Regions from separate parts of the Homo sapiens genome. Here all the other regions are linked to region 1. The links are contacts of gene promoters, found by promoter capture Hi-C in blood cells and fetal thymus (Javierre and others, 2016). All regions are on one chromosome and are shown on one strand. The core of a region is centred on a gene start or on the middle of the fragment in contact, and the rest is flanking DNA. Distances in the headings are between cores, read along the strand shown.

Region 1 (3,813 bases), core at 981-3,480:
TAAGAAACTGCCAAACTGTCTTCCACAGTGGCTGTACCATCTTGCATTCACAACAGCAATGAATGAGTATTTCTATTGCTTCACATCCTCACTAGTGTTCACTGCGGTCAGTGTTCCGAATTTGGGCCATACTGATATCTTACTGTCTTCATTTGCATTTCCCTGATGATACATAATGTGAACCATCTTTTAGGCTAGGCATGGTGGCTCACGCCTGTAATCCCAGCATTTTGGGAGGCCAAGGCAGGCAGATCACGAGGTCAGGAGATCGAGACCATCCTGGCGAACACGGTGAAACCCCGTCTCTACTAAAAATACAAAAAATTAGCCGGGCATGGTGGCGGGCGCCTATAGTCCCAGCTACTCGGGAGGCTGAGGCAGGAGAATGGCGTGAGCCCAGGAGGCAGAGCTTGCGGTGAGCTGAGATGATCGGGCCACTGTACTCCAGCCTGGGCAACAGAGTGAGGCTCCGTCTCAAAAAAAAAAAAAATTACTACATGATACTAAGTAATGCGGAAGGTGACTCAAAGGGGGAAAGGAACACAGCAGTGTAAAGGAAGGAGGTTGTAGATGGATCTAGAATTTCCCCCTCATTTCCATCAGGTGAAAGCCTGAGAAAACTGCAATCTTTGTGCAGGCTGGGTTTGCTTTGTACACACTGGTCCCCTAGTGTTCATCTCCAATAATGCTGACAACTCTGAAAACCATCTGTAGACATTCTGCAGGCTCCATCTCAGGAACAATGGCTATTTTTTCGGGTAGTTGAAGCAAAATTAAGTCCAATGATAAGCAAATATAACCATTATCAAAATCTTCCATTTATGTTTGTTAAAGCAACCTAAGTATGATCTGAGAAGGACTCTGTATTCTATATTTGAGTCCTTGTGGATGAACTGTAACCTAGCTTAATAGGCAGACAAGATTGAAAACCTAATTTAGGAGTATGTGCCTTTAACAATAGCTGAGTCTTGGCCAATCCCAGTGGCCATACTTCAACCATTCATACACTGCTGAGTGTTCAAACTGTGTTCAAAGAAGGCAAAAGCCAACCTGTAACCAATCCAGTTGTTTCTCTGCCTTACCTCCAATTTCTGTATGTCACTTCCCTTTTTTTGTCTATAAATATGTTCTGACCATGAGGCATCCCTGGAGTCTCTGAATCCGCTGTGATTCTGGAAGCTGCCCCATTCGCAAATCATTCATTACTCAATTAAACTGCTTTAAATTTAATTCTGCTGAAGTTTTCTTTTAACAGGTTTAGAAAAAATAATGGCAAAAATGAATGAAAATCCAATAACCCTGGAAGCAGAAAAGGCTGGGGGCTCCAATAAGTGTAAATAGTCCCATCCCTATATTTTCTCCATGGCAATTACAATCCAGCACATTATATATATATTTTTTTGCTTCTCGCATTTTGGCTTAGGGTAAAGCTTTTTAAAACAGGCACTGCCAACCAGTGTTATCAAGAAGGTCTGGATGCCGTTTTGTGGGAACATTTTAAAGAGGAATGTCCAAAAGGAAAAGGGGGATGGGTTGGGAGAAGGGTATCAGGCGGGTATCTCAAAACCATTCTTAGGGCTATAGGTTTAATTTATTTGGTTGTGGACGTCAGAGCCGTCATGGTAAGAAGGAAGCAAAGCCTTTTGTAATAATTAAAGCCTTCAGAAGCAGCGTGCCCCATTGCCCACTAGTGCGCCGTGAAGTCTGGTGTTCACCTACAGGGTCCCTCTCAGCACTGCCCAGGCCTCCCGAGTGCTCCAGCACAGTAGCTTGGAGCTTGTTGGTTTGGTGACCAAGATACACTCCAGGGAATATGCCATGCAGTGGAGTCTCTTCCCCGGCACTGCATAGCAAAAGGAAAGGGCCGCTGGGTGTCTGTGGGTCCTGGGCAGTCACAGAAGCCACCGCGCTGGCGGGGAGGAGGGGGACCGATGCGGTCCATGTCCCGGGCAGCCCCACCTTCTCTGCCTGCGAAGGGCCCTTGTCCGGCGGGAGGAGAGAGGCGCGCCCCACCCGGGCTCCTCTACACCTGCCGCCGCCTGGGCCGATTCCGCGGGCCTCGCCCGGCGCTTCAGCCGATTCCCGCCCAGCTCCGGGCTCATGGGCGCGGTCAGCAGGGCGGGCCAGGGCGGCGGGGCGCGACACTGGGAGGAAGTGCGGGCCGCCTGCCCGGGCGCGTTAAGGAAGTTGCCCAAAATGAGGAAGAGCCGCGGGCCCGGCGGCTGAGGCCACCCCGGCGGCGGCTGGAGAGCGAGGAGGAGCGGGTGGCCCCGCGCTGCGCCCGCCCTCGCCTCACCTGGCGCAGGTAGGTGTGGCCGCGTCCCCTACCCGGCCGGGACTTTCTGGTAAGGAGAGGAGGTTACGGGGAACGACGCGCTGCTTTCATGCCCTTTCTTGTTCTACCTTCATCGGCCGAGGTAAAAGTGCTGAAACCATGTGAATAAAATACAGGTGGGTTCCGCCAGCTTCGCTCCTGAACCTACCCGCGCTCGGGATCCAGAAGCTGCGCCGGGAGAGAGGGGCTCAGGCCTGGGCGGAGGGGACGGAGGTCAGACCGTGCGGAAAGTGACCCGGGCACCCCAGGGCGCCCAGGCCCCCAGGGAGCGCGGAAAGTGCGGTCGCGGCCCGGCCCTCGGGAGACGCGGGATTGGGATCAGGCACAGCGCGAGGAAGTCGATCTTGGAGCTAGAACATTTTCCTTTGGCCATTTACACGAATCCACTGGAAAATGCCGCAGTGTTTATCAAAGTTACTCAAAGTAGAAATGTCCAGACGTCTTATGAGCTTAGACAAATCTTTTACTACAAAAAGAAACAGCAGTTGCATTCAAACAACAACCCTTCTGAACCACTACTAAAATTTAGCATAATTACTCTTGTGGATACATTTTCATTGTCAAGTAATTTACTTAGCCAATGAACTTGGAGAGCAAGAAAGTTTTATGTAGTAAAATGTAAATTTGAGTTAAGAGTTAAGGGTGTTTCTTTTTGTCTGTTTGTCTGTTTTTGGCAATGTGGCTCCAAAACCTTAAGCCCACCTAAAAACTATATAAATGCAATCCATTCTTTTGTTGGAATGTTCAAGGACTAGAAAGACAATTGGAGAAGTGAGAGTTTGAATCTTTTTTTACGTTGGAAACAGTGTTGCAAAATATTTTTTGAGTTTTGCCTGACTTAGCAAAGATTCAGTCGAACTCAAGTAGAGTTCAAAGCATTGCAGCGTGTAGTAAAAAAAAAAAAGAGTTGAAGATGTTGTGCCATATCTGATTCTTGGTATTAAAAATAAAAAAAGGAACCATTTAATCCCTAAGAGTTCCTGGAAGAAATGGAATTGATTCTACCATCTGACTTCTTTGTCTTAGTAGGGACAAATTCATTGCCTTCACACAGGCAGCATTTTAATTAAATGCAACTAAATACATTGATGTCCTCCTTCTCCCCAGTGAAAGTCCGAGCAGTGCATAGATAGAATTATATTTTCTCAAAAAGGCTTAAATACATGTAAATTATTAAGTGTTTTAAGTGAGAAATCTTTGTCAGTTGAAATTATTTTATCAAATCATTTTTGTTCTGAACGGCACTTTTGTTTTAACGTATTTAGAAAACTCTTGCATTAAAACAGAAATTGATTTGTATTATCCCCTGTATTTGAAGTGCACTTTAAAGTGTATTTGAATGAGAGATTATAATCAAATTACTTGATTTGTGTCTTATCCTCTTACTCTTCTACCTTGGATTTGAAAAGGTTGGATTTGAACACTAGGAAAAAAGAGATTTTTCTACTGAGGGATTGTGGGAAGATTTTTTTTTAAGC
Region 2 (3,813 bases), core at 900-3,399, 1.5 Mb before region 1:
CTAAGCCAAACCTATTCAGCATTTTCTGTGTGTACCACACTTCCTCACACCTTTACAACTACCAATCCTTCCTTTGGAAAGGTGCTTGGCCCTCCTGGCTTTCTACCTGTGGAACTCTAAGAGACAGAACAGAATAGTGGGTAAGAGGCCTAACTCTGGAGTCAGACAGTTTGGGCTCAAATATGAGTCTGCCACTTACTAGGAATTTTTGGTAAATGGTTTTGTTTTGTTTTAACCTAGATCTAAATGCCAGATTGTAACAAATACAAGAAATAGAAAAACCAGGGAAACTGCACCACAAGGAAACAATTACACAGATCCAGAATGTGTAACGTTCCACAGGCAAAAATGACCTGGTTTGATGAACAGATGTTAAAAAAGGTGGCAGGGGTGTGTGTGGGGAGGGTGTCTATGTAGGTAGAGGTTGGGGGGTTGTTTAAAGAAGACTAAAAGAGACAATAACAAAATGTGGTCGGGTGCGGGGGCTCACGCCTGTAATCCCAGCACTTCGGGAGGCTGAGGCAGCCGGATCATCTGAGGCCGTGAGTTCAAGACCAGCCTGACCAATATGGAGAAACCCCATCTCTACTAAAAATACAAAATTAGCTGGGCATGGTGGAGGGCACCTGTAATCCCAGCTACTTGGGAAGCTAAGGCAGGAGAATTGCTTGAACACAGGAGGCAGAGGCTGCAGTGGGCAGATATCGCGCCATTGCACTCCAGCCTGGGCAACAAGAGTGAAACTCCATCTCAAAAAAAAAAAAAAAAAGAGAGACAATAACAAAATGCAAGATGTAGGCCCAAGTTTGAAAGCAGGGTTAAACAAACTATAAAAAGCTTTGGTGAGGCAGTCAGGGAAATGTGAGTCTAAAACAGCTATCAAAGAGTATTAAGGACGTCTAAGCGTAAGTATGATGTGGTTATGCATTTTTTAAAAAATTTTCCTGAGATGCACACCATAAACACAGAGATACACTGAAAAGTTTTATTTAGGAGTGAACTGACATATCTGAGATCTCTTCAGTAATATTCTAGAAAAAAAAAGTTAGAGAGGAACAGATGAAACATGATTGGCAAACGGTAATTGCTGAAGCTAAATGACTGGAACAAGTTGAGTATCCCTTACCCAAAACACTTGGGACCAGAAGTGTTTCAGGGTTTTTTGGAATCTGGAATATGGGCATTTTGTTAACCAGTTCAGTATCTCTAATAGGAAAATCTGAAATCTGAAGTGCTCCAATGAGCATATCCTTTGAGCTCATGTCAGTGTTGTTCAACGTTTTGGACTTTTGGAGCATTTCAGATTTTCAGATTAAAGATGCACAACCTGTACATGGGAGTTGATTCTATTATTCCATGTGTTTGAACTTTTCACAGTGCAGATGGTCCTTGACTTACAATGGTTCAACTTAAAATTTTTTTGACTAGTCAGGATGTAATCCCATTGTAAATTAAGGAGCATCTATACATTTATTTAAAAATATATCTCCCAGGAAGTTTTTTTCCCCCAGGTTCTGCCAGAAAGTAATTTCCTTGTCCATTTTCCTTAACAGTTTATTCACATTTTTGCCATCATAGTAATTATACCTAATTATTTACTCTTATTATACTGTGCCTAAAATTTACTTCTTATTGTGTGCTTATGTGCAAGGAACTCTGCTATGTGCTAGGCACTCCGTGGTGAACAAGACAGACATGGCCTCTACACTAGCTTCACAGAGTTGTTTTTTTTTTTTTTGAGACGGAGTCTCGCTCTGTCGCCCAGGCTGGAGTGCAGTGGCACAGTCTTGGCTCACTAACAGAGAGTATTTTATAGCGCAGATAGGGAGACAACCACCACCTAAGCAAACATGCAATTGCGACAGTGGGAGGGAAGCCCACTGGAGTCGGTGGCAAGGGCATAATGGGGAAATTGAAGAACTTTCTGTAGAGAAGTTGATTAAGGAAGGCCTTTCAGAAGATGAAATGCTTAATCTGAGACCTGAAGGATTCTATCATGTATGAACGAATGTTTGTGTCTGCTCCCAGCCACCAAATCATGCGTGGAAATTCCAGGCCGGGTGTTGTGGCTCATACCTGTAATTCTGTTACAGGAAAGGGGTCCAGTCCAGATCCCAAGGGAGAATTCTTGGATCTCGTGCAAGAAAGAATTCAGGGTGAGTCCACTGTGCAAAATGAAAGTAAGTTTATTAAGAAAGTAAAGGAATAAAAGGATGGCTACTCCATAGACAGAACAGCCGAGGGCTGCTGGTTGCCCATTTTTATAGTTATTTTTTGCTTATATGCTAAACGAGGGGTGTATTATTCATGCCTCCCCTTTTTAGACCATGTAGGGTAACTTCCTGATGTTGCCATGGCATTTCTAAACTGTCATGGCACTGGTGGGAGTGTAACAGTGAGGACCAAAGTCACTCTCTTCGCCATTTTGGTTTTGGTGGGTTTTGGCTGGCTCCTTTGCTGCAACCTGTTTCATCAACAAGGTCTTTATGACCTGTATTTTGTGCTGACCTCCCATTTCATCCTGTGACTTAGAATGCCTTAACTGTCTGGGAATGCAGCCCAGTAGGTTTTAGGCTCATCTTACCCAGCTCCTGTTTAAGATGAAGGTGCTCTGGTTCACTTGCCTCTGACGATCCCAGCACTTTGCGAGGCCAAGGCGGGCAGTTCACTTGAGGTCAGGAGTTCGAGACCAGCCTGGCCAAAATGATGAAAACCCGTTTCTACTAAAAATACAAAAACTAGCTGGGCCTGTAATCCCAGCTGCTCTGGAGGCTGAGGCAGAATGGCTTGAACCTGGGAGGGGGAGGTCGCAGTGAGCCAAGATCACACCACTGCACTCCAGCCTGAGCAGCAGAGTGAGACTGTCTCCAAAAAAAAAAAAGGGCGGGGGGTGGAATTCCAAACACCCTCTTCCCCCAAGAAGTGATTGTATTAGGAAGTTAGGAGGTGGGGCCTTCGGGAGGTAATCAAGATTAGATGGTCATGAGGGTGGGGCCCTCACCCATGGAGATTATAAATGTCCTTAGCCGGCCTGTCTCACTTGTTCAGAAACCGGAAAAGTCCGTGGTCTGCAGTGTGGAAAAGGGCACCCGGACCTCTTACTTCCAGCCTCTAGTCTGGAAACTTTGTCTAAGGTACCCCATCTACATTACTTAGTCACAGCCACCCTGAACCCACTAGCCTGTACTGCGCTGGAGCATTTCGCATAAAATGAAATTAACATAAAAATGACACGTGCTCGTTGTGGAAAAAATACCAAAAAGATCACTTTTAATTCTGTCATCTAAAAATAACCACCAGTTACATTTATAAATTTCTTCCAGTAACTTTTTTATATGAACATGTTTTTAAACTTGGGTCAATATTAAAAGACCAGAAGTTGTTAAACATCATTTTAAATCCCCTTATCCAGGAATTAGCATTGTTATTCTTGGCCGCAGCAGAATATTATTTTATTCCCTCAAGCTTTCCATGGCTTGGGTCTGCCCTGGTTTTGAACATTAGGTTAGGCTACAGAAAGCATTCTGGGTCTCTGGCCCATTTGTTTCTTTCTTTGTGGAGACGGGGTCTGGCTCTGTTGCTCAGGCCTGTCTGGAACTCCTGGGCTCAAGCGACACTCCACCTCGGCCTCCCGAGTGGCTGGGACCACTGGCGCCCGCCGCCACCGCGCCGGCTCCGGGCCTCTCTCTACGCGTGGCTCCGCAGGCTCCATTCTCCACACAGTCGTCTAGGGGGGCGCCAGGAGCCCCGCGACGGGCCAGGCCGGAAGCTCAGCAAGTGCACCAGGCGGCGAAACGGCCGGCTGCGCAGGGC
Region 3 (3,813 bases), core at 811-3,310, 1.4 Mb before region 1:
TGTCCTGGCTACACCTGAACACACAGGGCTCGGCCCCTCTGCATGGCTGTGTAACGGCTGTCTCTCCTGCCTGTCAACACCACTTAGAACATTTCCAGATGTGTCTGTTCTGAAGTTGCCGGTCTAAATCCCACTGCACAGTCTCATTCATCTGAGAGGCTTTTCCTCTGTATAACTGATTGGTAATTAGGAGTGGCTCCCAAAAGCTGCTCCACTTTGAGCTCCCAAACCAGTAATGGTTTCTACATAGGCTCCCAATGAAGAAGACTCAATAAATTATAGGTTCAGATCTTCTGAATTCCAGGCACATTTGCAGCTCCTTGCCATAATGGTGTCACTTTTTGTTTGCAAAACAGAAGTTGACCTACTTGGCCTACAAAGTTGTGAGAATTATCTGCTAAATCATATTACTATATAACTAATCAATTAGCATCTGATAATAATAATGTTTATTGCTCTGACAAATACGAATGGAGCTCCTGCTAAGCCTGGAACAAACAAGTCCTGGCCCCACAGAACCCACGCCCTGGAGTGGGGCTGCGTGGAAGCAACCAGCCCAGGGCCTGGCACCCACAAACATCCCATGCCCCTCCAGGGTCCTGCTGCCCTTGCTCTTCTCAGTCCTCATTGCATGCAATGACAGACATAAGAAAGGATGGTAACAGTGGTGACAAGCTATCCACAGTCCCTCAAGAGAAAAGCTCCCATTAAAAACCAGCTACCCCTCCTTTTGGAGCAATGATCCCCTGGCATTTTAAGGATGCGTCCTTTCTCCCGTTCCATGTGACAAACATCATACAGCCAGTGAGAGCCAGAAGTGACAACGTGGCCAGGCTGCCCCATCCCTTAAAGCAGAAGAGGACTGCACACTCGCATTGTGAGAGACTTCACACTGGCTCCCGCGCCACTAGAGGAGGAGGAGGAGGCAGGCCTGCGGCAGGCAGGGCCTTGGAAAGGGTTCTTGTCATGCATGCAGCAAGGACACCAGTGGCCTGGTCCATGTGCTGCAGTCCCAGCCCAGTGAAACCCAATGAACTGACATTGGCTCCTCCAAGCCACACCCAGACCCAGGTCCCAGCCAGTGCCAAGCTGTGCACAGCAAGGATAAAGCAGAAACAACCTCTCTCGTGGCATGTCCCCCAGCTGGGCAAAGGTCCATACACACAAAAGAAACAGCAATGAGCTGCCATGGGATGGGAGAAGGCGCTCTGAAGACGGATGCGGAGCCTGCAGAGGTAAGGCGTGCCAACCACACAGGAAGCCAGCCGTGGAGACAGCCCAGGGGCAGGCGAGTGGGTATACAAACCGCTACATCCAGACAGGGGAACGTTACTCAGCATTAAAAATAAATAAGCCATTAGGCCATGAAAAGACACAGAGGAACTTTAAAAGCTTATCATTAAAGAGAAAGAAGCCAATCTGTAGAAGTACATACTGCATGATCCCAACTATAGGACATTCTGGGAAAGGCAAAACCATGAAGACAGTAAAAAGATCAGTGGTTCCCAGGGGCTGGGGAGAGAGAGGGTTTTTAGGGCAGGGAAACTAGGCTGGCAGGGATACTACCACGGTGGACACATGTCAGTATGCATTTGTCCGAGCCTACAGAATGTACAACACCAACTGGCAATCCTAATGTCCAGATACAGATGTCGGGTGATAAGGTACCTATGTGGGTTCACCGACTGTAGCAAAGGCACCACTCTGTGGGGGGATTCTGAAAATGAGGGGGCTGTGCATGTGTGGGGAAGGAGCATATGGGAAATCTCTGTACCACCTTCTCAATTTTTCTATGAACCTAAAGTTGATCTAAAAAATAAAGTCTATTAAAATCAGTAACAACAAGGAACAGGCCTAGGAGTTCCTTGCCAGTCACAAAAGCAGCCTCTGTGAGGGTTCATGGCCTGGACACATTAAGGAAGTAAGTGCCCACACCGGAGGGCTAGGAGCAGAGACGCAAGACCCACAAGGCCCAGTTCATTTCGGGTCAAATACCAAAGATGCTGGATCACTGTTGGAGAGATATGGTTTACATGGGATCTAATTCCTATCTAGATCCCCCAACTGCAATCAGTCCTCTGCGTATCCCAATAAGCATGCTGGGGTCAGGCCAGGCTAAGAGTCCAGAGCCAGGAGATGGGAGAACACAGAGATTTATTTCAACTCTCTCTGGAAACCCAATGAAATGACTCTAAAAGGATATGAACTTTAAGGATAAAAATGGAGGAGGGAGGTGACTTTGGAATCTATTAATAGGTGAGCAGTAACCAACGGTGTGCTGGCAAGCTGTAACAACTGGCTCTCCACGGGGTGGGCAGTGGGGGTGGGCGGTGGGGTAAGGTGGGGGGTGCCCAGCTTGCAGCACACGCTGATTTCTGTGGTGTAAATGCTGCTTTCGAGCTCCCAGAATGATGCCGCTGAACTGGGGAGAGGTGCACAGCAGCACCCAGCACATGGCACTGCCATCTCAGATACAAGAGGCGAGTAACTGCAACCACACAGATAACAGTAGAATGCACACGATACTAGAAAGGAATGAGTTCTGAGTATTTTACCTTTTTAAATATAATTTGTTTCATTTTAAGTCCACATATTTAATTTTTAACAGTGGCTGTGTTTACCACCAACCCTGTCACACACCACCAGAGCTGACTGATTTGAATTTCAGACCAGAGTTGAGCCAGGGCCTGGAAGAAGTCACAAAGAAACACAACCTGGAAAATGGAAGCAAGCTTAAAAGTAAAATGTGGTGAAAGAAATGAAAGGCTGGAAAGTAAACTAAAGAGGTTTCCTAGAAGTTACACACGTAGCAGAGATGAAAAAAAGGGGAACAGACAACTGGACGATCCATTCAGGAGTCCCACATGAACTGGCAGGAGCTCCGGGAAAAAAAATGAGGAATTATTAAAGCAGTAATAAAAAGAAAATAACTAGAACAGAAGGACCTGAGCTTTCGGAATAACAGCGCCCAGGAGCACAGTGAATGAAAGGAACCCGCCCACACCAGACACATCATCCTGAAAGGAGGGTTACATGAGGCTTCCAGAAAGAAACAGGCCACAAAGAAATTACCTCTGAGTGCCCCACTGGAGGCAGCAAAGCAACGCCTTTGAATCCCAGGGAAGATGACTTCATACCTAGAATTCCCCATCTAGTCAAATTATCAATCAGTATGAGTGCAGTACAGAACACTGCTTCAAACCTACAAGTTCTCAAATGTTTTACCTCCCTCAGCTTCTTTCTCAGAAAGCTACTGCAGGATTTGCTCCACCAAAACAAGGGAGCTGCTTCCCAGGTCTTCTTTCTTAGGAAGCGAGTGGAGGAGAGGCAGAGAGAGCGGGGAGCTGGGGAGCAGGCAGAGGCTCCAATGGGGCGGGGCAGGAGAAGGCACAGTGGATTACTGATTGCATCTGTGGCTTTGTTCTCAGAAATGCATTTTAAGGCTCTGGCAAAGAGTCTGAAGATGAATTAGAACAGATACACAGATTAGAAAATGAAGTTATTAACCCCAGGGAAGCAAGAGTGACCCATGAATGGAAATGTAACCAGAGTGTACTTATCACTGCCCAGTTGCATAGCCCCCATTACAAAAATTACAACTAACTCCACTGGAGGTCTGGGGGAAGAAAGAGAGGGAAAGGGAGGGGACAAGAGTCAGAGAACACAATCCTGTCTTCCATCATAACACAACATCTAAGATGGGAAAGTCAGGAAATGTAGGCATATCTAATTTGAAGGAAAATACCAAAATAGTGAAAATAGTTGAAACTCAGTGTCTCAGGGCAGCAGGGAAGGGACAAAGGGACAAGACAA
Region 4 (3,813 bases), core at 1-2,500, 1.4 Mb before region 1:
TGTGGAGGGCCCGCCTGGCCCTGAGGGGTGGACTCTGCCCTGTAGGCGTGGGTGGCTTAGGGCTGACCTGAGACGCTGGCTCCAACACCCAGGCCCTTCTCACCTGCGTGTGTCACTGAGGGCCTGCTGCTGTCCGTCTGACCACCGCTGACCTGTCATGGAGGGATACGGCCCCCACACTGAACAATTCCCTGGGCAGGCTCTTCCCAACCATCTCAGTGGTCACAAGTTGAGGACCACCACTGGCCACCAGCTCCAGGCGGCCCCCGCCATGGCCCATGCAGCTTCCTTCTGGGCCTCACATTCGATGCTGCCCAGCACTGCCCAAACACAGTCCCTGGCCCTGCAGGGGAACCTGAACTGGAAGGACGAGGGCAAGACCCATATGACCTGCCAAGAGCCCAGTGCCATGCCCCAGCCACCAGAGAGGGTGCCAGGCGGCAGCAGAGGGGAGGCACACATCCTCCATTGCAGCCAGCGTGGATCTCAGGGCTACAAATAGCCAGTCACAGGAACTCAGAACCACGAGGAACCGGCCCCTTCATCACAGGCAGGAGGAGAATGAGGCACAGGCATGGAGCCTGCTCAAGGTCACGGAGCCTGCTCAAGGTCATGCAGCGCAGGCCAGCTCCCAGCCACTCTGCACACGGCCTGGCCCACTGTCTCCAAGACTGCTTTCTCCTGCACCAGGGCAATGGCCCCCGGCCCCACCTACAGGACCATGGTGCACACGGCCAACCCACCTCCAGGGGCAGGGTGACAGACATCCCCCAGAAGAGCAAAAAACCAGATCCCAGTATGGGCTGGCCATAGGGAAATACGCAAGAAAGCAGCCACTAGGTCCCCATCTCCACCTTGTCAGCAGCCAGCGCAAAGCTTCTCTAGGGCTCTGCCCCCTGGGTCCCTCAGGGCCCCTGGACCCTGCCAACCACACCACTGCAGGCTCCGCATGACTGCTCCAGAGGTCCAGAAGACAGACAGGATGGACCTAGGTCCCTGTGGGGGGGGTCTCCCCTTCCACGCTCACTCCTGGCCTTGGGTCACAGGCCCACTAAGCGGTTCGTCCAAGAGTGCGAAGAGTCAAGCACAGCCCCCAGCTCCTTCCCCAAATGCAGGTTACCCACGGGGCAGCCTGGGCATGGGCACTGGACAGAAGTGGCATGTAGCCTGGCTCTCCTAACCTCCCTGCCCAGTCAGCCCTCCCAGACCCACCACCAGGAGTTGTACCAGGCCGGCGGCCACCTCGGCTGACTCTGGATGCCAAGAAGCCTCTAATCCTAGCTTCACCCAAAGCAGACGACATCTAGGAGAGCATCGACATCCCCATCAGGGTGAGCGCCTTCTTGGGGCCAGGAGAGGGGGCTGTGAAGACAGTAATTCAGGTCACCCAGCAACACTGTCACCATCCCTCTTTTGCAGCTAAGAAAGCAAGGCTTGGAAACTTCCGGAAGTCATATCAGTGTTGGGGGGTAGGGGGCAGTGTCTGACACTACAGGCATGGAAAGCAAAGTTCCCCGCCCTGCATCAGAGACAAACTCAGGTGGGCCAAAGCAAGTTCCTGAGCACACCTGGGCTGAGCTGTGCTCATTCAAATCGGTTTCTTAACAGAATCTCAAGTTCATCTCAAGCTTGGAGCCTGGTGAGCACTTCATGAAGAGCAGGTTCCTGGGTCCCAGCCGGGTGACAGTGGCCGAGGGACGTACCCGACCTCCAGAAGCCCGGGAAGCATGCTGTTCCAGAGAAGTGCACGCTGCTAACAGCCCATTCCAGAGCGCATGGTGCAATAATTTTTTGCTAGCTTTAAAAAGCAGCACAAGAAAGAAATTACGCGGTTTGCAAACTGAAGTCTACATGGTGGATGGAGTGGCCAGTTACGTGCTCAGAAGAATGCAGCTGTGGGTTTCTGTTTGGGGTCAAGCTTTGCCAAATAGTAGCACTCTGAAAATGCACATAACAAGAAAACCTCATTAAAAACTCTGTAACCCTAAAACCTGTATCAAAGCCTCCAAAGCTGCTGCTTAACCCTGACGGGCAGCTCTGTGGGTGGGAGCGGTCACAAGCCTGGCTGAGGAGGACGGGCCTCAGGCTGGGATGGCAAGTCATGCCCAAAGCATCTGCAAATGACAGAAAGTTCTGGAAATATTTCACACAGGGAAGGGAATTACTGGACGGTCAGAACATACACCACAAAATTTCAGAACTAGGAGGAAGTTTTCAGCAATACTCTCCCACTTGGGGCCAGAAACTCCAAGCATCTGTCCCTGCTCCCCAGCAGCCAAAGAGCAAACCCTCCAGACAGCTCCCCAACCACATACACACTGTGTCAAGGGGCCTGGACCCCACTTACTGGGTGAGTTAGATGCCCTCCAAGCTTCAGAGGGAGACAACTGACTGTGACTGCCTCTCTAGGGGTGGCTATTGTCCAGACGCAAAACCCACCCAGGGCAGGAGCCTGCAGAGGGGCAGCAGCCAGGCTCGGAGGACAAACAGCCAACATCTTCCCAGGCAGGGAAGAGGACCAGCCACAGTTACTGGGGAGGGGGAAACTGGCCTCTGATGTCTACAGAGTCTAACAGGTGTATTTCCAAGGCCTCAGCAACCCCGCAAGCTCAGAGAGATGCCCTGCCCAGGGATGTTTATCTCCATGGTGCCTTATCAGTAAAAATCTGTCATCCAAATATGCACCATCAGATGGGCCGAGCGTGGTGGCCCAAGCCTGTAATCCCAGCACTTTGGGAGGCCAAGGCGGGCAGATCACCTGAGGTCAGGAGTTCAAGATCAGGATGGCCTACATGGCAAAACCCCATCTCTACTAAAAATACAAAAATTAGCTGGGTGTGGTGGCTCGCGCCTGTAATCCCAGCTACTCAAGAGGCTGAGGCAGGAGAATCGCTTGAACCCGGGAGGCGGAGGCTGCAGTGAGCCAAGATCATGCCACTGCATTCCAGCCTGGGCGACAGAGCGAGACTCCATCTTGAGGGAAAAATACCAAAAAACAAATAGGCACCCATCAGAAACAGGTTAAATTAACAATAATATTATAGCATGCTATGCCGGCAGTACAATCCACACAAGTCGATGTTTATTGACAAATACAGATAAACATTCTATTAAATGCAAAGAGGAGAAGATAAAACAGCACTTAAGTGCAAGCTTACTCATGTAAAAAACCCAGTCATAAAAGGTCACACCCAGGGAATGGCCTGACTGGCACGTTCCAAGCTCACTCCCAGGCTGACTCCTAACCCTGGCGGCTCCTGCTCCTGCTCCTGCGGGTGAGCCACCCGGGGCACACCCAGGGCTGGCTAGAACACCACCTGCAAATGCAGGTAGAGCAACCTCCAGGAGGAGGGACACCAAAATGCCAGAACTAATTCTGGGAGGTGGAATTTTAGGGGCACTTTCAATGTCTTCTTTGAATTTTCCTGTATCTTCCAAATTTTTTTACTGGAGGCATTTTTCAGTATTGTTCTCCCAAACAAGAGCAGTTTCCCTAGATTCTCTTTTGTTTTTTGGAGACAGGGTCTCACCCTGTCACTAAGGCTGCAATGCAACGGTGCAATCATAGCTCACTGCAGCCTTGAGCTCCTGGGCTCAAGTGATCCTCCCACCTCAGCCTCCTGAGTAGCTAGGACTACAGGCGTGAGCCATCATGCTCAGCTATCTTTTTATTTTTTTGTAGAGATGGGGTCTTGCTATGTTGCCCAGGCTGGCTTTGAATTCCTAGGCTCAAGTGATCCTCCCACCTTGGCCTCCCAAAGCCCTGTGATTACAGGTGTGAGCCACTGTACCCAGCAAGATTCTCTCTTTTGA
Region 5 (3,813 bases), core at 1,314-3,813, 1.3 Mb before region 1:
ATAAAAGCAGCCACAGATGATTCGAAATAAATTGGCCCAGCACACTTGACCTGCAGGCCCAAGCTTACCAAATCCTGGTCTATATCCTGATTATGGTGTCAGTCACATGGCTATCTACATGTGTCAAAACTCAGTTAGCTGTGTTTGAAGTGAATACATTTTGTCATAATTCATGTCAATAAAACTGAGTAGGACAGCATTGCCTCTAGTGGGACTCCACGTGGAAAGCACCCCAAGTCTAAGGTGCATCCAACCTGGGGACCGCTACTTTCTCCCCATGGGCCTGTCCCACCCACTCCCAAGTGTGGGCCTGTCTTAGGGCAGCAGTTCAAAAGCCTCTGGGGAGCCTGTTAAAACAGATGGCTGAGTCTGGGCACCGTGGCTCACACCTGTAATCCCAGCACTTTGGGAGGCCGAGGAGGGTGGATCACCTGAGCTCAGGAGATCGAGACCATCCTGGCCAACATGGTGAAACGCTGTCTCTACTAAAATACAAAAAATTAGCCGGGCATGGTGGCGTGTGCCTGTAGTCCCAGCTACTCAGGAGGCTGACGCAGGTGAATGGCTTGAACCCACGAGGCAGAGGTTGCAGTGAGCTGAGATCACACCACTGCATGCCAGCCTGGCGACAGAGCAAGACTCTGTCTCAAAAACAACAACAACAACAACAACAACAACAAACAGATGGCTGGTCCCACCCCACAGTTCCAGATGCCAGGGAGACTCTGCATTTCCCAGGGGTGCAATGCCGCTGGTGCGGGGACCACTCTCAGAGAAGCACACTCCCATTCCTCCAGCGTTCAGTCCATGTGGAACTGAGAGTCAGTGTTGCAGGCAAAATGCAGGCCATCCCTGCCCGGCCTGGAGACAATGCCAGCACTCACTAAGGTGATGAGGAAAATGCTCACAGTCCACCAGCGATGGGACAGCCCCATGCATCTGTGGGCCCCGGGGCCAAGAGGAGGCACAGCACACACCGAGAGTCAACAGCAGCTCATGGGGATCCTTCACCAAAGGGGCGGCCCCAGCCAGTCTCTGTCCCTCCCACCCACCTCACGGCTTCCTCCCACTCTGCTCCATCCTTCTCTTCAGGATGCAACCCTTCCAAGCGGGCCTCCCTCAGCCCTATCTGCCCATGACCCCCCTCCACTTCCCCACTGCCCTTCACGGCAGCAAAATTCTTGAAAAAGCAATAGGGTCCTGCTGTCCCAAATTCCCCTCCTTCCTTCTCTCAAGAAACTCACCCCATACTTCAGCCCACCATCCCAGACCACATGGATAAACCCCAGGTTGTCTTCGGTTCTCACCTTCGTGACCTCCGCTGTCACCCTCCCTCTCATGCAAGCTGCATGTGGCCTCCAGGATGCCCTCAGAACCCTCTGGTTATCCCCTACCTCGCTGGCCGCACCTTCTTGGTTTCTTGTTCCAGGCTCAGTCCTCGGACCTCTTCTCTTTTCCATCTACCTCAACTCCCTAGTGGTCTCATCCAAACTCCCTTTCAAAATGTCATCTCTATAGCTACAATATATTGCCAAGATTAGGGTCCCAGCTCAGAGCACTCCCCCAAACTCCAGATCCCTTCCTCCAACTTCCTCCTCCCCACCTCCACTGGGACACTTCAGTAGGACTCTCACCTGTACTATCTTGAGAGCCACACCATCCCTCTGAATCCTCACAACTCCTCCCCTGAAGACCTCAGTCTCAGAGTGATGGCAACTCTACCCTTCCAACACCCGATCCAAGACTCTTGGGTCATCCTGGACCCCTTGCTTGCTGCAACAGCCCTCATGGGATCCATCACAGTCCTGTTGGCTCCGTCTTCGCAGAACACCTGCAATCAGCCTGCCTCCCACCCGAGGAGACTGCCCGAGCTCCTGCAAGGCCCGCCCCGCACCGCCCTCCTACCATTGCTCATGTGTGCCTAAGTGTCCCCTCACCACTCCTCACCTCCCCTACATCTAGGGCTCAGCAAGGCACAGGGGCCACCTGATTTTAAATCACAACCACCCTCTCAACAAACCACTGGCCCCTTAAGCGGCTGGACCTAGAACTATCTATCTCCCCTCTCATTAGCCTCCCATCTCCCTCCACTTGACCATATTCCCCGGCACCCCAGCCATGACTGACATTCAATACGTGTTTTCTGGGGAAGCAGTGAAACTTCATCAAGTGGACAAGTGCAAGAGTTGGGAGGGCCCTGAAAGGTAAGCAGTTCCTTCAGGTCAGGAACCTAAGACAAAGGAGCATCACCCACCAGGGACCAAACGTGCCAGCACTGTGACCTGCCCAGATGGCTCAGCTCCTTGTGGGCCCTCAGAAGGAGGGGGCTATACAGGATAAGTGTGATCCAGATGGGGGAAAAGAATGTGCATCCACCCACTGGGTGGTTCTGTGCAGGCGCAAAGGCAGGCGGCTCCTGGCAGCACAACAATGAACATGTGCCAAGACCCTCAGCCCTCAAAGATGGCCCAGGGCTCAGAGCCCCGCCACAGCCCTGCTGCAGCACTGGGCTGTGCCCTCACAGCACATGGGACACACCGGTCAGGAACAACAACAAACAAAAGCTCCTAAACTCACAGTGAGAACCAAGTGGGTCAATTGCAGGCCTAACGGGAAACTTTCTGTCCTTCCAAACAAAGTCAAAACACACACACAAATCAGAAGGCCTAACAAACACCCACATTCTACATCAAGGCAAATTACGTTCTGGCTGCTCAAGCAACTCTAATTTCTTGCAACAGATCAGGAAAATACAAAAACTGTTACAATTCTAAGCAATTTCTACTTTTTACTTTGTAGACTTCTATGCAGCACGCATCACTTATGTTTTTGCTATAGCTTTAGGTTACTTAACATATCCTTTACTAAATGGAAGAAGAAAACAAAGACACCACAGGAAATGCTGGAACAAGCCCCAGGTCCAGGTCAGCCAACCAGCAATGGGGACCCCTCTGGCGCAGGCTCCAGACCAGACTTGGCCTTTGTTTCTGTACTGAGTGTAAGGATAACCCTTCTGTGGCTGGATTGTACTATTATTTAATTGTCAGGGTCTTTGTCTTGTCTCCCCTAATGCTGATAGTAGCATATTGATTTCTATCCTTCATAGCCCACAAAGCACATATTCAGAGGATCAATAACTATTGATTCATTGATTGCCTCATGGAAGCCAATTCATCTGTTATTAAGACGTGTAGAAACATGAACTTCCACAAATCAAATTCTATTTAAAACGCCAGAGGAAAGTATATGACCTAATGAAGACCACTTTTTGAAAATTCATTTTGATATTCCAAAAATAATTCCTTGTAACAGAAACAAACCATACATAAGTACAAAAAGAAGACAAAGTATAGGTTCCCTCTTCCTCTTCCCTCTCCTCCCCCAACACACACTCACTCACATTCACACACGCCCCACCCTTTGCTAACTGTGGAGTGCTGCTTTCACTCAGGGCTGAGTCCCTAGAGCCTGGGGCAGCGCCTGGCACCAGGTCCACATAGGCGGCTCCATAATGATCTGCTGAATACCAGGTGTGTGTCCTTCCAGATGGGCTTCCGTGCTGAGCGCCTGCACTTGTGCATGGAGAGGGCACATTCTCTATAGTCTACACTAAGGAGTGACATTTCTACTTAATAGATTGGCATATCTTTTAAAGTAAACCTTTGAATGATGCCATCATGAAGTAAAGAATCCAATGGCATGTTTTACAGGGAGGAATTGGAGATCTCCGATTATTATTAACTTTTCATGATGGAGAATTTTCAAAGTGCATGCAAGTAGGCAGAACAGAACAAAGAACCCAGGTACTCTCAT
Region 6 (3,813 bases), core at 846-3,345, 1.2 Mb before region 1:
GTAGTGGAGGTGGAGTGCTTTCCGGCGTGGAAGGTACTGGCTGGCCCGGTGGGGGTGTTCTGACTCTGCAGAGGGGGAGTGTCATCCCCAGCTCAGACGCTGTTGTGATGTCACCGGCAGCACCCAGCACTTCCCCACCTTTGCCCTCTAGGGTGGGTGAGCTGCAACACAGGTTGCAGTGGCCCAGGGGGAGGGGATCATAGACCATAGACTGCCCTGGACTTGGGCTGTTTCCAGTGTGGGGCTACCGGGAACAAAGCTGCTATGAAACTTTGTGTGCAAGTCTGTGTGTGTGTGTGTGTGTGTGTGTGTGAGAGAGAGAGAGAGAGAGGACTTCCATTTCTCTTGGGTAAGCACTAGGAGTGGACTTGCTCAATCAGACGTGACTAATGTTTACTTGTACCTTGTACAGGAAATTGCTGGGAAGTCTCTTGAGAGCAGTGACCATTTCCCATTCCCGATAACCGCATGTGGGGGTCCTACACCAACCCACCACAACCTCACCGATGCCGAGCGCTGTTGCGCATTCACACTCCGGTCACTCTCGTGGGTGTGCCGTGGCACCTTCATGTGGTTTGAATCTGCACGTTCCTGTAGGTGAACCGTGCTGAGCCTTTCTTCATGTGCTTATTGGCCAAGGGTGTTCATTCCTTTGTGAAGAATGTGTTCAAATCTTTTGCTCATTAAAAAAAATTCGTTGTTGGTCTTTTTGTTATTGAGTTGTATAACTTCTATATATATATATATATATATATATATACACACACACACATACATACATACACACATATATACATACATATATATATATATATATAAATTTGTTGTTGCTTTTTGAGATGGAGTCTCACTCTGTCACCCAGGCTGGAGAGCAATGGCATGATCTTGGCTCACTGCAACCTCCGCCTCCTGGGTTCAAGGTATTCTTCTGCCTCAGCCTCCCGAGTAGCTGGGATTACAGGCACCCACCACCACGCCTGGCTAATTTTTGTATTTTTTAGTAGAGACAGGGTTTCACCATGTTGGTCAGCCTGGTCACAAACTCCTGACCTCGTGATCCACCTGCCTCGTCCTCTCAAAGTGCTGGGATTACAGGAGTGAGCCACCACACCCAGCCTTTATATATTTTTGATGCCAATTCTTTGTCATAGTTGATCCTTATTCTTCGTGGATTCCATATTTCTGAATTCATTTACTTGATAAAATGTACTTATAACCCCTAAGTCAATACTGTGGACGATTTTGTGGCCATTTGTGGGCACACACAGAGCCCTGAGACATTGGAGTTGTCTGATGTGTGTGGCCCCAGCTGGGATGGACAGGGCAACTCCCCACCTTCTTGCTGCAGCTCCCACAGGGACGGTGAGTGTCCTTTTTACGGTCCATTTAGTGCCCCATTTTTTCACGTTTCTGTGCATTTTGTTGGGGATCTCATAGTTTGTAACAGCCCCGGCATGGTGCTGAAGCGCTGTCTGGGGCTCCAAAGTGCAAGAAGGCTGTGCTGTGCCTTATGGAGAAAACTGGTGTGTTAGAGAAGCTTCATTCAAGTGTGTTGGCTGCGAGTTCAATGTAAAGGAATCAACAGTGCTGATCAAATAAAGCATCTTTCAATAGAAACACACATCAAACAAGGTTATGCATTGATGGGTTGATGACAATGCTATCACCAGAGGCTCATAGGAACCTTCCCTTCCCTAAGAACCGTGGTTTGGTGTTCACTAAATTGGTGCTGAGGCATTTCACGGACTGTAACTACCACCAGTAATGAGAATCAACCCTGGACAGAGGCACTTCACAGACTGTAACTACCACCAGTAATGCGAATCAACCCTGGACGTTTTCTCCGGATAGGTGGCTTGCCTCCTCATTTTCTAAATGGTGTATTTTAATGAATAATAGTTTTATATTTTCATGAAAGTGACTTACCAATAGTTTCTCTTGTGGTTTTTGCTTTTTCCTGTGAAGCTGGCACATGTTCTCTTCTAGAAGATTTATAGCTTTAGTTTTTATTTTGGGTTTGTAATCCATTCCATATTTCTCTTTGTGTATGTATAGGCAGGGGACGAAGTTTATTTTTTTCCTATAGATATCTGTTCACATTGAAGCAAATCCAAGACAGTCTATCATATCCTCTGAACTCAGTACAGTATGTATCGCTGTGTTAGTTCAGGATGCTATAAAATACTATAGGCTGAGTGGCTGATAGACAACAGAAATGTATTTCTCACAGTTCTGGAGGCTGGGAAGTCCAAGATCAAGGCACCAGCAGGTATGGTGTCTGGTGAGGGCTGCGTCTGGTTTACCATGATGCCTTCTTGCTGTGTCCTCATGTGATGGAGAGTAGAGAGCTAGTGAATTCTCTGGGGCCTCTTTTATAAGGGCACTAATCCTGTTCATGAGGGCTCCACCTTCATGACCCAATCACCTCCCAGAGGCTCTGCTCCTAATACAATCACATTTCAGGTTAGGGTTTCAACATATGGTTTGGGGAGAGGAGGCACATTCAGTCTTTTGCACTAATGTATAAAAGTGTAAGATTCTATTGAATGCAATGCATATTAAAGGCCTGTGATCATAGCCTGCCTTCAGCAGAGGCTTGCTCTTGCCTCTGGTGTTAACAGCCAAACGTCCCTCACTACCCAGGCTTTTGGGGAAAGCTTTGGACTGGCTACATTCTCCAATTCACAGGCAGCTGCTCAGCAGGTTCTCTCCACCTAAGCTGTTATCTCTGGCCCCTCCCCTGTCCTTGCGGCAAATCCCACATGAAGTGTACAGCAGATAGTCAAAACATTATTTAATTCACAGCTTCTACTACTCTGAGTTTAGAATGGAGGAAACCCTTCTTTGTTAGGTGTTAATACTCTTATGATACTCATGTTGTTTGAATCAGCCTCTAAACTCATTCATTTATTCAACAAATATGTATTTACCTCCTACTATGTCCCAGGTACTGCACTGGTTTGGGTGTTGTCCAAGACAGATGAGACACCTGCTATCCTAGAGCTTCCATTCTTGTTAGGAAAAGACACTCTAAGCAATGAATGATACCCTTCACTACTTAAACTACAACAACGCTCTCATCATTAAAGTGCTTTAAACCATAAGTATAGGAGCCATTAGATTGCTCTACAAGGGGATTTGACCTCATCTGGGAAGGCAGGGAAATCTCTGACCAGCGAATTCTGAATTCTACCAGAGGAGGGGAATCAGCTAGATGAGGTAGGTGTGTGGGGGCAGAGGGCAGAGGTGGGGCTCCTGGTGCAGGGAGCAGCATGTGTAAAGACCCTGAGGTGGAAGGGACTCTGGGATGCCAGGACTGGAGCAATGGGAGGGTGGCGTGTGAGGGAACATTGTGCAAGGTGAGGCTGGGGGTGCTGCTAGGCCTCGAGGGCCAGTTCAAGGTCTTGCTTTATGTTTCAATTCGGCGTCGTCCAGCAGAACTTGCTGCACAGAGAGAAAACCTCTGTATCTGTAGTGACCAGTGTGGTAGCCGCATGTAACTACTGAGCCCTGGAAATGTGGTTAGTGTGACCAAGAAACTGAATTTTAGATTTTAATTAAATAAAATTTCAATAGCACATGCAACTTGTGGCTGCCAAGTTGGGCTTCATAGCTGTAGCACAACGGCAGGTCACCAAGAATGTAGACCAGGAAGATGACACCATCGGATCTGCATTTGTTACTGTTATTTGTCACTCACTGTGGCTCCATGCGGACAGTGTAAGGACCTGTGGAGATGTTGCCACAGTGGTGCTGGGGGTAAATAATGGCTGCATGATCTCGGAAAGATTCAAGAGATCTTCGGGAGTCAGA
Region 7 (3,813 bases), core at 821-3,320, 1.2 Mb before region 1:
AAAGCCCCCAGCTCTCTGTAATGCCACATTAGGGATTAAATTTCTTTCTTACTCTTTTTTTGGAGATGGAGTGTCCCTCTGTTGCCCAGGCTGGAGTGCAGTGGTGCGATCTTGGCTCATTACAACCTCCATCTCCCGAGTTCAAGCAATGCTTGTGCCTCAGCCTTCCGGGTAGCTGGGACTACAGGCACGCACCACCACACTCGGCTAATTTTTGTATTTTTAGTAGAGACAGGGTTTCGCCATGTTGGCCAGCATGGTCTCAAACTCCTGACCTCAGGTGATCCACCTGCCTTGGCCTCCCAAAGTGTTGGGATTATAGGTGTGAGCCACCTCACCCAGCCAGGATTCAATTTCAACATGAGTTTTGGAGAAGACAAATATTCAAACCATGTCAGTCATTAAAAGTTGAAAGCATTGAATACATATTTTATCCTGATAATGTTCACAGTTCAAATAAAAAAAAGTGTAATCATCAATGAGAAAACATAAAACAACATTATGAGCCAGATATAATAAAGCATTTGACATATACTCTTGGGGGAAAACTTACAGAAAATTATTGGTAATACAAATTTAAAAAATGGAAAATAGCATTGGAAACTGCAACACGTTTTGGGGAAAATTTCTGAATTAAGACAGTACAATTTTAGTTATCACCAACGAAATACAGTTTCATAGCAGAGGTATATTGTATTAGCCTGCTCACACTTATAACAAAATACCACACACCATAACAAAATACTGTAGATGGAGTGCCTTAGACAACAGAAATGTATTTTCTCACTTCTGGAAACTGTAAGTCCAAGATCAAGGTGCTGGCAAGGTTGGTTCCTGGCGAGAGCCCACTTCCTGGGTTGCAGCGGCTGCCTTCTCAATGTGCCCAGGGGTGGGGGGAAGTCTCTTCATCTTCTTATGAGGGCAGTGATACTGTCATGAGGACCCTACCATTGTGACCTCATCCAACCTTCATCTCTCCCAAAGGCTCCACTTTCCAAATACCATCCCACTAGGGGTGAAGCTTCGACATTAGAATGAAGAGGAAGGCATAATTTAGTCGGTAGCATATATTACTATCTAGTCTTTCAAGAGGAGATAATTCTATGGCCGGGGGTTGGGCACTGCCTCTTTGGAAAGCTCAATGTATACATGCCCTGTGACCTAGCAAGTCTGTGCTCAGATATGTGCACCTGTGCACCAGGAGAGACAAAAAGAATGGTTACATTTGCACTGTTTGTATTGTAAAAAAGTGGATGATGTAAATATCCATTCACAGAAGAATGAACAATTTAGGGTATGTGTCTACAACAGAACCCTTTAGGCGGTTACACAAATGCATCTAAAAATGGTAGTGTTCTTTGTAAGAAGGCAAGTTGCAAAATAATGTCTTCTGGCTGGGTGCAGTGGCTCACGCCTGTAATCCTAGCACTATGAGAGGCCGAGGAGGGCAGATCACCTGAGATCGGGAGTTCAAGACCAGCCTGGCCAACATGGTGAAACCCCACCTCTACTAAAAAGACAAAAATTAGCTGGATGTGGTCACGCATGCCTGTAGTCCCAGCTAGTCTGGAGCCCAAGGCGTGAGCGTCACTTGAACCCAGGAGGCAGAGGTTGCAGTGAGCTGAGATTGCGCCACTGCACTCCAGCCTGTGTGACAGAGCCAGACTCTGTCTCAAATACAAAAAAAGATGCATTCCATATGATGCCAAGTATACAAAGTAAAAAAAAAGGCATGCACCGCAATGTATTCTATTAGTAATGTGTGCATACATTTGTAGTATTTAGATTAACTTCAATTGTATGAACAAGTTCTAAAAAGATACTGTACTAATTTTTGACTGGAGTTTCATAAAACATCTAAGATAAATGCAGTTTTTCTATTAAGAAATAATATATATCTTACCAAAGAAAACTTTTTTGTACCTCAATCAGTAAATTTTGATGGTTTTCTTCCTTAGTTTGTCTATATTGCTTTAAAGATCATAGGCATTTAATGTATTTTTATTTCTGCTATTATTAATGGAATATCTCCCCCATTATAGCTTATATTCTGTGATTGCTGTGTTATAGAAAAGTTATTAATGGGCCAGGAGGGGTGGCTCATGCCTGTAATCCCAGCACTTTGGGAGGCTGAGGCTGGTGGATCATGAGTTCAGGAGTTCGATAACAGCCTGATCAACATGGTGAAACCCCATCTCTACTAAAAATACAAAAATTAGCCGGGCATGGTGGCTTGTGCCTGTAATCCCAGCTACTCCGGAGGCTGAGGCAGGAGAATCGCTTGAATCTGGGAGGCAGAGGTTGTAGTGAGTTGAGATCTCACCATTGCACTCCAGCCTGGGGGACAGAGCAAGTCTCTGTCTCAGGAAAAAAAAAAAGAAAAGAAAAGCTATTAATTTTGTAACGTTTAATCTTATACATAATCACTTGATGCATATATGAATTTTAAGATGATTAGCTGTGTTTTGAGTGTTATTCCACTATCCTCCAGTTGTGATAGTTTTATTTCCTTCTTTTACATAATTACACATCTTATTTCTGTTTTATTTATTTTTAAATATTTTGCATTGACTGAACATTCTGGACAAATGGTAAATAATAATTTTCACAACAGGTAATTTTTTTTCCCTAATAGAAATGGGAATGTCTTTAAAGTAGATTTTTGTTGTTGCCCAAATGTAGGTAATAATCTCCCCTTCTTAGGGCTTTCAACTTTTCCTATTGCTAATAGATATTAAATGTTATAAAATTACTTTTGGGAAATAATTTTTTACTGGACTTTTTTTATCTTAAACTGGTAAGCCAGAATGATATTGTAATTGTGGAATTAGACCACTAGATGGCGGTGTGCACCTATTTTTTTGCTTTGGGACCCTTAAATTGTTTATTGTTAAAATTTAAACCTTTTAAATAGGGGTGTCCAATCTTTTGGCTTCCCTGGGCCACATTGGTAGAAGAATTGCCTTGGGCCACACATAAAATCCATTAACACTAATGATAGTTGAAGAGCAAGGAAAAAAAAAAAACACCTCATGATGTTTTAAGAAAGTTTACAAATTTGTGTTGGTTTACATTCAAAACCGCCTTGGGCCTCAGGCGGTCTGCCAGCTGAGGGTTGGACAAGCTTGTTTTAAATTAACATAATCCACAAACTATCATCTTCCTTTCGACTTTCAATTTAGTGATCTTAAATTAGGAATATGCTTAAAAATACTTCTTGTCTCTCCTGTATTGAGTCAGTTTTATTGGGGTATAATTTATACCACAATAACATTCAACAATTTTAAGGATACAATACAGAGAGTTGTAACAAACACATTCAGTCTTGTTTCCACCACCACACTTGTAATAGAGAACATTGGCATCACTCCAGTCACTTCCCTCGTACCTTCCCTGCCTGCCAGCCCCTGGAAACCACTGATGGGTTTTTGCCACTTGACCTTTTCTAGAATTTCGTATTAGTGGACTCATACAGTATATAGCCTCGTGTAGGTGGCTTCTTTTCCACAGCCCCTTGCTTTTAGGATTCATCCATGTTGTTAAGTGATTCAGTAATTTCTTCCTTTTTATTGTGGACTAGTGTTCCATTGAATGGCTTTACAACAGTTTGTTTACTCATCCAACCACAGTGAACATTTGGGGTGCTTCTAGCTTTGGGATATTATGAACAAAACTGTTACAAACATTTACACAGAAGTCTTTCTGTTGACGTGTATTTTCATCTCTTGGTAAATACCAAGCAGTGGCATTGCTGTGTCATGTGATGAATATATGTTTTAACTTTCTAAGAAACTGTTTTCCAAAAGGTTTTCT

Evidence for each region. Contacts are between HindIII fragments. The CHiCAGO score rates a contact against its expected background, and 5 or more counts as called.
Region 2: a fragment that was not itself captured here is called in contact with the fragment with the promoter of SYK in region 1 in 3 of 17 cell types (fetal thymus, megakaryocytes and total B cells); the score reaches 8.6 in fetal thymus.
Region 3: a fragment that was not itself captured here is called in contact with the fragment with the promoter of SYK in region 1 in 3 of 17 cell types (megakaryocytes, monocytes and erythroblasts); the score reaches 8.2 in megakaryocytes.
Region 4: a fragment that was not itself captured here is called in contact with the fragment with the promoter of SYK in region 1 in 1 of 17 cell types (fetal thymus); the score reaches 5.3 in fetal thymus.
Region 5: a fragment that was not itself captured here is called in contact with the fragment with the promoter of SYK in region 1 in 2 of 17 cell types (fetal thymus and monocytes); the score reaches 5.8 in fetal thymus.
Region 6: a contact is called between a fragment that was not itself captured here and the fragment with the promoter of SYK in region 1, in 5 of 17 cell types (neutrophils, monocytes, fetal thymus and 2 more). The highest score is 13.8, in neutrophils.
Region 7: a fragment that was not itself captured here is called in contact with the fragment with the promoter of SYK in region 1 in 4 of 17 cell types (neutrophils, fetal thymus, erythroblasts and 1 more); the score reaches 16.9 in neutrophils.

The regions. Positions count from the first base shown.
Region 1 is chr9:90,799,589-90,803,401 of GRCh38, forward strand. SYK (spleen associated tyrosine kinase) reads left to right here and starts at 2,231. Exons shown (of 14, transcript NM_003177.7): 1 at 2,231-2,305. RefSeq lists silencers at 1,980-2,189, 2,210-2,369. The HindIII fragment of the contact is 2,717 bases long and covers 1,429-3,813 here.
Region 2 is chr9:89,306,782-89,310,594 of GRCh38, forward strand. LOC105376136 (a long non-coding RNA gene) reads right to left here. Exons shown (of 3, transcript XR_930101.4): 1 at 2,585-3,813; 2 at 2,077-2,165. Among named protein-coding and RNA genes, the nearest start is that of CKS2, 2.5 kb to the right of the region's middle. RefSeq lists a silencer at 3,720-3,813. The HindIII fragment of the contact is 2,628 bases long and covers 836-3,463 here.
Region 3 is chr9:89,407,756-89,411,568 of GRCh38, forward strand. The region is part of intron 2 of SEMA4D (semaphorin 4D); the gene reads right to left. Among named protein-coding and RNA genes, the nearest start is that of SEMA4D, 88 kb to the right of the region's middle. RefSeq lists enhancers at 3,042-3,201, 3,696-3,813. The HindIII fragment of the contact is 1,340 bases long and covers 1,391-2,730 here.
Region 4 is chr9:89,428,001-89,431,813 of GRCh38, forward strand. The region is part of intron 2 of SEMA4D (semaphorin 4D); the gene reads right to left. Among named protein-coding and RNA genes, the nearest start is that of SEMA4D, 68 kb to the right of the region's middle. The HindIII fragment of the contact is 752 bases long and covers 875-1,626 here.
Region 5 is chr9:89,490,921-89,494,733 of GRCh38, forward strand. The region is part of intron 1 of SEMA4D (semaphorin 4D); the gene reads right to left. Among named protein-coding and RNA genes, the nearest start is that of SEMA4D, 5.3 kb to the right of the region's middle. The HindIII fragment of the contact is 5,004 bases long and covers 62-3,813 here.
Region 6 is chr9:89,556,440-89,560,252 of GRCh38, forward strand. LOC124902207 (a long non-coding RNA gene) reads left to right here. Exons shown (of 2, transcript XR_007061655.1): 2 at 1-704. Among named protein-coding and RNA genes, the nearest start is that of GADD45G, 47 kb to the right of the region's middle. RefSeq lists an enhancer at 3,141-3,310. The HindIII fragment of the contact is 1,120 bases long and covers 1,536-2,655 here.
Region 7 is chr9:89,573,669-89,577,481 of GRCh38, forward strand. No RefSeq gene overlaps it. Among named protein-coding and RNA genes, the nearest start is that of GADD45G, 29 kb to the right of the region's middle. The HindIII fragment of the contact is 2,103 bases long and covers 1,020-3,122 here.